2 separate regions of the Homo sapiens genome follow, and region 1 is linked to region 2. Evidence: promoter capture Hi-C in human tissues and cell types (Jung and others, 2019). All regions are on one chromosome and are shown on one strand. Each heading gives the region's core, a stretch centred on a gene start or on the middle of the fragment in contact. The rest is flanking DNA. Distances are from core to core; before and after follow the strand shown. Region 1 has its middle 7.6 kb from the start of SELENBP1. Region 2 holds the start of TUFT1 (tuftelin 1).

Region 1 (4,744 bases), core at 2,013-4,512, 160 kb before region 2:
TCAGCACCTGAATGCTGCCTGAGAAGAAGTTAGGGGATCCTTCTCCCAGTGTCCCAGAAGGACAGGAGGCCAGAGACTTTGGGAGACATGGCCTCAGGTCTACATGGAATTGGGAGGAGGCCCGGGCAGGGGCTTCACTGCCCATCCTGGATCTGCTGTCTCTTTTGCATCATATCCACCCGGCTGGTTTCCTTTACAATCTCCTCAGGGTCACGTCCATGTGCAGGAATGCTAAAAGTGCTATGTGGGATATGGGAGCCCCAGATTTCCTTTCTCACCTTTTCAAAAGGTGCTCAGAAACCAAAGTTTAAAAAGGCTTAAACTGAAAATAATAGCTGTTCCCAATATACAGTAATCTTTAACAAATCAATTGGAAAAAGATAAATTACACAAAGAAAAACATTCCAAGGATATGAAAATACAATATAAATGGCTAATAACCATAAGAAAACATACCTGGTCTCATTAGCCATTAGAGAAATGCTGGTTAAAGCAACAAAAAGATATGATTTTCAAAAATAAAAAGATTGATAATATTCAGGATCAGAAGGAGTGTGGGGAAAAGGACCACTCCTGTATTCTACTGGCAAGACTATAAAATGGTGGAACATTTTTAGAAGGAAATTTAGCAACATCTAGCAACATTTTAAATGGAAATCCACTTCTAGTGATCTACCTTATGGAAATCAATAAGTATATAAATATATAAATATAGGATGTTCATTGCAACAATGTTCTTAATAGTGAAAGGTTGGAAACAACCAATAGCAGAATGGTGAAATATATTATGGAACATCCATAGTATGAAACACCAAGCACCTTAATGTGTAGTTTTCTATATACCAACACAGAAGGATATCAATAAATACGGTGGAGGGGTGGGGGAAACCAGAAAGTATAATCTCATTTCATTTTATTTTTTATTTTTTGAGACAAGAGTCTCGCTCTGTCACCCAGGCTGGAGTGCAGTGGTGCCATCCTGGCTCACTACAACCTCCGCCTCCCGGGTTCAAACAATTCTTCTGCCTCAGCCTCCCAAGTAGCTGAGATTACAGGCATGTACCACCAAGCCAGGCTAATTTTTTTGTATTTTTAGTAGAGATGGGGTTTCGCCATGTTGGCCAGGCTGGTCTTGATCTGCCTGCCTCAGCCTCTCAAAGTACTGGGATTACAGGTGTGAGCCACTGTGCCCAGCCTCATTTTAATTAAAACTACATAAAAATTAAGCTATATAGTTTTAACTAGTTAAATTTATATTTATTTATTTATTCATCCATCTATACGTTCATAGAAAAGGATTTGGCTTATGATTGATGTCAGTATTTTGGGAGGCTGAGGCAGGCAGATTGCTTGAGCCCAGGGGTTTGTGACCAGCCTGGGCAACATAATGAGACACCGTCTCTACAAAAAATTAAAACAATTTAGGCCTGGCAGGCTCCTGTAGTCCTAGCTACTTCGGGGGTGGGGAAGGTGTGCTGAGGTGGGAAGATTGTTTAAGCCCTGGAGGTCGAGGCTGCAGTGAGCTGTGATTGCACCACTGCACTCTGGTCTGGGTGGCAGAGTGAGACGCTGTCTCAAAAAAAAAAAAAAGTAGGCCGGGCGTGGTGGCTCACTCCTGTAATTCCAGGACTTGGGGAGGCCGAGGCGGGCGGATCACGAGGTCAGGAGATCGAGACCATCCTGGCTAACACAGCGAAACCCCATCTCTACTAAAAATACAAAAAAAAAAAAAAAAAAAAAAATTAGCCGGGCATGGTGGCAGGCGCCTGTAGTCCCAGCTACTTGGGAATCTGAGGCAGGAGAATGGCATGAACCCGGGAGGTGGAGGTTGCAGTGAGCTGAGATCGTGCCACTGCACTCCACCCTGGGCGACAGAGCAAGACTCCGCTTAAAAAAAAAAAAAAAAACCTAAAGAAAAGGATTTGTAGAGATAAAGCTTCCCTTATCATGCCAAATGTAGCTAACAGTGGTTACCTCAAGAATTGGATTACAGGGAGCAATTTTTATTTTTCACATTATGTATCAATCATATTTTTAAAATTTTATATTAAGTTTGAAATACATGTGTAAACAATTGAAACAGTGAAAGAATACAGTAACATTTTTGCCTATAAGATGGGCAAAAAATTTAAAGGTTAAAATCTTGTATTGGTGAGACTATGCGGCAAAGGGACCACTCATTTAGGACTAATGAGAGTGTCAATTGGTGCCTTACTAACAAAAACAATTTGTCAATACCTCACAAAAGTTAAACTGTGCATACTGTTTTACCTAGGAATTTCACTTCAAGGATGCAATCCCATGGAAATACCTGCACAAGTAGGCAAGAAACAGGTACAGGTTGAGGCGGTGGCTCACGCCTGTAATCCCAGCACTTTGGGAGGCTGAGGCAGGTGGATCCCCTGAGGTCAAGAGTTCGAGACCAGCCTGGCCAACATGGCAAAACCCTGTCTCTACTAAAAGTATAAGAATTAGCCTGGCGTGGTGGCACACACCTGCAATCCCAGCTACTTGGGAGGCTGAGGCAGGAGAATCACTTGAACCTGGGAGGTGGAGGTTGCAGCGAGCCAAAATTGCACCACTGCATTGCAGCCTGGGGCGACAGAGGGAGACTCTGTCTAAAAAAAAAAAAAAAAAAGAAAAAAGATATAGGTACAGGTTGAGCATCCTTAATCTGAAAATCTGAAATCCAAAATGCTCCAAAATCTGAAATGTTTTGAGCACCAGTGTGACACCACAGGTAGCAAATTGCGTGCCTGACCTCACGTGTTGGGTCACAGTCAAGACTTTGTTTCATGTACAAATTATTTAAAATATTGTATAAAGTTACCTTCAGGCTATGTGTATAAGGTGTTTATGAAACACAAATAAATTTGCGTTTAGACTTGGGTCCCATCCCCAAGATATTTTAATATATATATATGTATTCCAAAATCTGAAAAAAATCTGAAATCTGGAACACTTCTGGTCCCAAGCAGTTTGGATAAGGGATACCCAAACTGTAATAATAAAATAACAACAGCTATCATTTATTAAATACATGGTACTGTTCGAAGTACTTAGGGATAAAGAAAGAGAAATGAACCACATCCACCTCATATAAAAGCTTTCCATGTGCCAAGTACTTCTCTGAGCTATTTGCATGTTCTGCCTTTACTTATACAGGGTTTACAACATCCCTATGAAGTGGGTATTTTCATTATGTCCAATTTACAGATAAAGAAGTTACAGCATAGAAAGAGGAAGCAACTCATACAAAGTTACACAGCTAGTGAGTAGCAGAGCCCAGGATCTGAAGCCAGGCAGTAGCTTCAGGCTCTGGCCTGGGACCTCTATGCACATAAGTTCGCAGCCCCTTCAGACAGAATGCTTTTGTGTTTTGTTGCTTGGATGGCTGGCCAGCACATTCAGCCCTTTCTATATTGGGTGGGAGGCAAAAGGCCAGATACTCACCGTCCCAGGCCTTAGGCCTCCTTGCTGCTAGGAGCAAGCATGTGACTTGGTCTTGGACGCAGCCAGGTGTGCCCACCGGAGACTCCAACACAAGGAAGTAGGGAGTGGGTTCTGGTTGCTGCAGGGAAGGCTGGTGTGCGGGTGGGTCACCATGCTGCAGAACCTCCCAGGGTCCAGCGCAGCTGGTGGTGCCATGGCAGCACATAGAACTTGAGGGGTAGAGGCAGTGTCCTTTGATTGGGATCTAGGACAAGAAAGGGCTCTCTGGCTGCAACCACTTCTGCCACTGGGGCCTTATGATCGAGCAGATCCAGTGATGCTTGGTGAGTTGGGGTGATCCATGGGATGAGGCAGGCAAGAGGCAGAAGGAGAGTCCCCAGGGTGACCCCAAATGATTGAGCCCAGCCCACTTCAGCAAAGAACAGTTCTCTTGAAAAACAGCCTCTTCTGAGCTTCTGGGTCCCAAGAGAAACCAAACATGAGAGGATGGGACACCAGGTGGCCTTTGACTCAAGCCTCCTTATGAACTGGGGATTATCTGATCCACCTAGCTAGCCCAGGAACCAAGCCCAGGAGCTCATCATCCTTAAGTAGAACTGGGTTGAGCCCGAAAGGAACCCTGAGAGTGAAGCTGCCAACAGCAGAGAGAAGCTGCGGAGTCGCCTGGCTAGCCCTGTCTTGCCAATACCCTCTCCCCTCAGTCCACCCTAAGAGCTTTAGAAGTTATACATGAAGACTACAGAGAAGAAAAACATTCTAGGCTGGGTTACAGGTGGCTGGCTCTCCACTATACACCATCATCAGCCAGAAGTGGTCTATTATTAAGAGATTAACAACAAGAATTTTAGAACCAGACTGTGTGTGTGAATTCCACTTCCACCAGTTACTAGCTTTATGAATCTGGGCAAGTAATTTAACCTCTCTGTACCTCGGTTTCCTCATCTCTAAAAGAGAGAAAATAAAATATCTATTCCCCTCATAGGGTGTTTTGAAAATTGCATGATGATATACATAAAGCTCTTCGAAAAGCACCCAGAACCTAACATACGCTGTGTTGTTGTTGTTGCAGCAATACAGCCCTTCTGAGAAAGTTCTAGAGAGCTGTTGAACAACAGTGTGAAATACTTAACACTACTGAGCTATACGTTTAAAAATGGTTAAGATGGTAAATTTAATGTTTTGTGTTTTTTTGTTTTGTTTTTTGAGTTTCGCTCTTGTTGCCCAGGCTGGGGTGCAGTGGCGTGATCTTGGCTCACTGCAACTTCCGCCTCCCAGGTTCAAGCGATTCTCC
Region 2 (5,202 bases), core at 1,878-4,377:
CATTATTCTTCTCTCTGAGTCAGGCGCAAAGCTTCCCGCTCAGCTGCTGAGTCAGCTCTCAAAAACGAAGGGCTGAGCTCAGATGAGGAATTCGACAGTGTCTACGATCCCTCGTCCATTGCATCACTGCTTACGGAGAGCAACCTACAGACCAGCTCCTGTTAGCTCGTGGTCCTCAAGGACTCAGAAACCAGGCTCGAGGCCTATCCCAGCAAGTGCTGCTCTGCTCTGCCCACCCTGGGTTCTGCATTCCTATGGGTGACCCAATTATTCAGACCTAAGACAGGGAGGGGTCAGAGTGATGGTGATAAAAAAAAAAAATCATCAGCAATAAGCTGATAGATGGACTTTCCACTGTAGGAGTGGACATTTCAAGCCAACTGAGCCTTTTCCTCAAGTGCCGACACCTCCCTCATCTCTCTTATAGTGGAAGGATGGTCAGCATTAGGCTGATGGGGACTGAGAAGGATAGGAAGGGATAGAAATTGCCATGTGTATAAAGCTTTATTCTTTAGCCCTTAACCCTAAGGCTCAGGGAAATACCCTATGTTATTGTGCTCCCTGGATTCCTGCAACTCATTTTCCTTCCACTCTGGAGCAGGGTGAGGGGAATGTTATGGGTAACAGACATGCAGGCATGGCTCTACCCATTTCTTTGCACAAGTATGGGGCCCATGTGGTAGTCCCCATACCCCTCCAGTTCCTATATTTTTGTCTTCTTCCTTTCCCCTCTTTGCCATTCCTACCTTGCATTTTTCCTGTCAGTGCCTTAGCCAAGGCAAGGAGATAAGGATGCTCTTCTTGCTTTTTATATCTGCACATTCATACCTCTCCAAAGACCAGCTTTTCCCCAGCCAGGGCCCTCAGCCTTCCCTGCTGCCCCAGTGATTGATTGAGAGAGCTGTTGGGGTTTCTCTGCCAATGACCCCTGGGAGAGGGACTTTGGTAGGGTCATGATAAAGTGGCGGGGGTCTGGTCCTGCTCAGGGTTTTCATCCTTCCTCCTCTCCCTCCTCTGTGACTGTGGATATGGTTATAAGGTGGTTGCACCTGGGAGCCCTGACAACTGGCTGCACAAATTCCAAAAGTAAAGGTGTCAGTCCCTGTGGCCTTCCTTGGGGCTTCTCTGACCACATGTGCCCAACTTCAATAAGAGAACCAAGGGACCCTCATTTTCTGAGGTGCTTGGCTCTGATTCAGGGCTTTGCAAGGGGTTAGAAGCTGACTGTAAAAATGGGAAGAGGCAACGGAAGACATTTATTTCTCCTTTGGATTTTGGGGAGAACCAAGCCCTGGTAGGGAAGAGGTAAGGGGGATGATTCACCTCCATATTTCCTAAGCAGGTTGTATAGGGAGCCGGTGGCAGGAGGAAGGCTGTTTTCACAAATGACTTGTAATGTCGTGATTAAAAAAATTCCTATATTCTTCTGCAAATCAAACGTTCTTTCCCAATCCAATCCAGCCTTGGTTTTATTTTAAATTAAATATTAAAATTACACATTTATATTGAAATCCTTGGTTTGTCTTCTCATTCTTTTTCTTGGCATATTTGGAGGTCCAGATTTTATGAAGTCATATTAACTGTACAGCTTAGGAGCCGAAGCTGGAGTTTTCTTCACCTGACTTTTCAGAGGCCCTTTAGAACAGAGCAGATGGGACCTACGAAACCTGGAGATGTTTATAGCAGCCCCATTCTCTTCTCTCCTGAACAACCTTCTGGGAAGAACAAGGACAGTAAATGCCTTTTTTTTTTTTTTTTTTTTGAGACGGAGTCTCACTCTGTCACCCAGGCTGGAGTGTAATGGCATGATCTCAGCTCACTGCAACCTCTGCCTCCCGGGTTCAAGCGATTCTCCTGCCTCAGCCTCCTGAGTAGCTGGGATTACAGGCGCGTGCCTCCACACCCAGCTAATTTTTGTATTTTTAGTAGAGATGGCGTTTCACTGTGTTGGTCAGGCTGGTCTCAAACTCCTGACCTTGTGATCCGCCCACCTCGGCCTCCCAAAGTGGTGGGATTACAGGCATAAGCCACTGCGCCTGGCCAGCAGTAAATGCCTTTTTGAGGGTTAGAGTAGAACAGACCAGAACTGGGTTTTATTCCCTTGGGTCATAGTGATAACCCCAGCATTCACTTCCCAGGTAGAAAAATCCTCATTCATTCCTAACTGACATAGGACCCAGTCCCTAACTGGGAGGTAGGGACATTTCTGCTGTTCCTGCCCTAGTGTTGCCTTGAAGAGGGAGCTGGCCCTTCACTAGAGCCTATTGCCAGGTATAGGAGTACTATCCCTTCAGGAGTGGGTCAGACCTCCTCCTAAAGTATTCTGTCTGCTGTCTCTGTGGACCACAGCCAAGTGAAGAAGCCATCTGCCAAGAGCAGCTGGGCGGGGACGAAGCTCCAGGGTCCTGCTTGGCCAACCCTCTCTTCTAGGCCCTCAAGATCCCAGCCTAGGCTTGGGGAGAAAATGCAACTGGAAAAGTCAAGGCTCATCCTTTCTCACGAACACAAATTCCTTTTAAGGCAATGTGTCCCGCCTCTCCCAACTATATAAGGGCAGCGTCAGTAAAAGAGCTTCTGCAAAACAAGCCCCACCCAGAGCCTAAGCTGACTGGGCCTCCTGGGCCTCTTGCCAAGGAAGTGCACCTGCCAGACTGGCTTAGGCCAGTCTGAGTGAGCTGGACCTTGGTGCCTGCCTTTCTGCGGTGGAGGAAAGGTTTACTCAGCTCCACAAAGCCTACAGGTGGCTTACGTATAGGGAGAGGAGCATGTATGGAAGGAAGCTTTTGCAGGTTCCAACTCCTCATCCACTAGGAGCAGGCAGGGTGATTCCCTCTGACCAACACTGATCTTGGAAAGATGGAAAGCGACAAGATTAATGAAGAATGTGCAACCACATACTCCAGATAAAGCTGTTCAGTTAAAGCAGCCCCATGTCGCTCCCAAGCCCCACCTTTGTGTAAATCTATGCGAGCACCGATGGGGCATGTCCCAGACCCATTGGCTCCGCCCACCTCACCTCCTCGCCTATCGTTAGTTCTCTGCGAAACCGCGAACTGGGGGCGCGGCCTATCTTCAGCCCCGCCCCTGATGGGCCTATACAAGGGGGCGGTTCCGCGCGCGCCCGCCCAGTTGGAGCCAGACAGCGGGGTGGACAAGTGGCGTGTGTGCTGCGACCCCGAGGGAAGATGAACGGGACGCGGAACTGGTGTACCCTGGTGGACGTGCACCCAGAGGACCAGGCGGCGGTAAGAAAAAGCGCTCTCGCTGTCTTCTCCGTTTTGTATTCCCGGTTTCTAAGTCCGCCCCTTCCGTGCCCCGCGCCGTGTTGGCTGACATCACCTGGTGCCCGGCTCGCGCGGTCAGCCCTGCGCGGCGCTTCTCTCTTTTTATTCTTTTGCCTGCGACGGGCAGTGGGAGTCGCGGGGTGAAGACTCCTTTGAGGCTGGAGGGTTCGGGGCGTCCCTGCCCTTTGGTAGGACACTGCGGCTCCTGCCTGGGACTCGGCGCCGGCGAGCCCGTGCTTGGGCCGCGGGTCTCAGGCGTCTTTTGGGCAGCCACATTGGGTCATAAGAGAATGAGCTCAAGCGACTGGGTCCCTGAGCGCCTTTGGACGTTGTGTCCTGCCGAGGAGGCTTAGGCTTTCCCGTGGGTCGAGGGTCCTGGTGACCTCCGAGGCCCTCCAAAGAATTTCATCATGGTGCTTTGGATGATCAGTAACAAGAAAAATGGTAGAGTAAATTACAGGGCTTGGACTGGAGGGCGGGGGGCAAGTAGGGGACGGTAGGACTCAAACTATTCCGAGATTGGCTAGGGACTCTACCTTTCGCTAAGGGATAGGGCTTTCCGCCCGGGGGTCACCTCTTGTCTTGGATTTCTCCTTCTTCCCCCTTGTAGTTCTCTTGTTTTCCTCCCTCTATCTGCCTGCCGATAGCTTCCTGGGACGGTGTGTTAGTTTTGCTTCCGTCTCCAGCCGCCAGGCCCTGGGATAGTGGAGGAAGGGGATGCAGAACCCGGGCCGAGAAGGGGAGGGAAGTGACCCAAGCGAAGGCTTCTGGACGGGGAGAGGGTTGCGGAGAAAGGGGGCGTTCTCCAGTGCAGGCTGGTCTACCCCTCTCTCCTCTTTCTCTGGCTCCCAGTCCCAGTTCTCCCCACCCTAGCTGACCATATGGTTTTTCCTCTCCAGAGGCTGAGGAGGGTAATTTGTGGCTGAGTGTTTCTAGGCTCTTTTGGGGAACTTAACCCAGATTAGGTGTGTACTATTTCATCAATTTCCAAGCTATTGTGGGTGGGAGTGAAATGAAAACTAAGGTGATGGGGAACTTGTGTATCATCCCCCCTCCCACATCTGACTCCCTTACTCTCTGCCTGCCTCATCCTGCTCTTGAGGTAGAGCTAACCCAACTGCAGCTAGATTATGGCTCTTCTTCAAACTCATTTCAGGTTTAGAATACAGATGGTCATTTAGTTCTTTTCCCAGTCCCCTCTCCATTTCTGCCTGGGCTATGAGTGTTTTTGCCACATTAAAATACAGATGTTGCTATTGGCCAACCCCAGTTGCCCAAACCCCATTCTTCTGTAGCCTGCCACATCCCCAGCTATGAGACTCTGAAGAGATGGAAGAAATCTATCCATTATGTGTCAGCCACAAGTCCTACTCCCTGCTCTTTGTTTTTAAGCGACGAGTGTCTTGCTATGTTGCCGGAGCTGCAGTACAGTGGCTCTTCACGGGTGCAATCATAGCACACCACAGCCTTGAACTCCTGGCCTCAATCCTTCTGCCTCAGCCTCCTGAGTAGCTGGGACTTCAGATGCACACCACCTATAGCTTCTCTTCCATGCTCTTGCTCTCTCTTTTGGAATAGTTGAGGGAAAAGGGTATGAGATAAATAAAGGAGAGGGATGTTTGGGCTGCTTTTTGCTTGCTTGCTATATAGAAAAGAGATCCGGAAAGAAGTCTAAGACCAAGTTGGCACTGGCAGTGTTAATGAATCATTAACCTCTACTATTTTTTTTCTTTCTTCCTTTCTTTTCTTTTCTCTTTTCTTTTCTCTTTTTTTGAGACAGGGCCTTGCTCTGTTGCCCAGGCTGGAGTGCAATGGCATGATCTCAGCTCACTGCAACCTCCACCTCCTGGTTTCAGTAGATCCTCCTACCTCAGTCTCCCCAAGTAGCTGAGACTGTAGGCACATGCCACCACACCTG

Evidence for each region. The method cuts DNA at HindIII sites, captures the fragments that hold promoters and counts their contacts. A contact is called where the count stands out against the background at its distance.
Region 1: a fragment that was not itself captured here is called in contact with the fragment with the promoter of TUFT1 in region 2 in 1 of the 25 tissues and cell types used here (liver).

What each region holds. Positions count from the first base shown.
Region 1 is chr1:151,377,983-151,382,726 of GRCh38, forward strand. No RefSeq gene overlaps it. Among named protein-coding and RNA genes, the nearest start is that of SELENBP1, 7.6 kb to the left of the region's middle. The HindIII fragment of the contact is 4,780 bases long and covers 873-4,744 here.
Region 2 is chr1:151,537,182-151,542,383 of GRCh38, forward strand. It overlaps TUFT1 (tuftelin 1), which reads left to right and starts at 3,128. Exons shown (of 13, transcript NM_020127.3): 1 at 3,128-3,245. The coding sequence starts at 3,186. It overlaps CGN (cingulin), which reads left to right. Exons shown (of 21, transcript NM_020770.3): 21 at 24-1,511. The coding sequence ends at 165. RefSeq lists enhancers at 1,873-2,389, 2,905-3,420, 3,421-3,935. The HindIII fragment of the contact is 14,328 bases long and covers 1,642-5,202 here.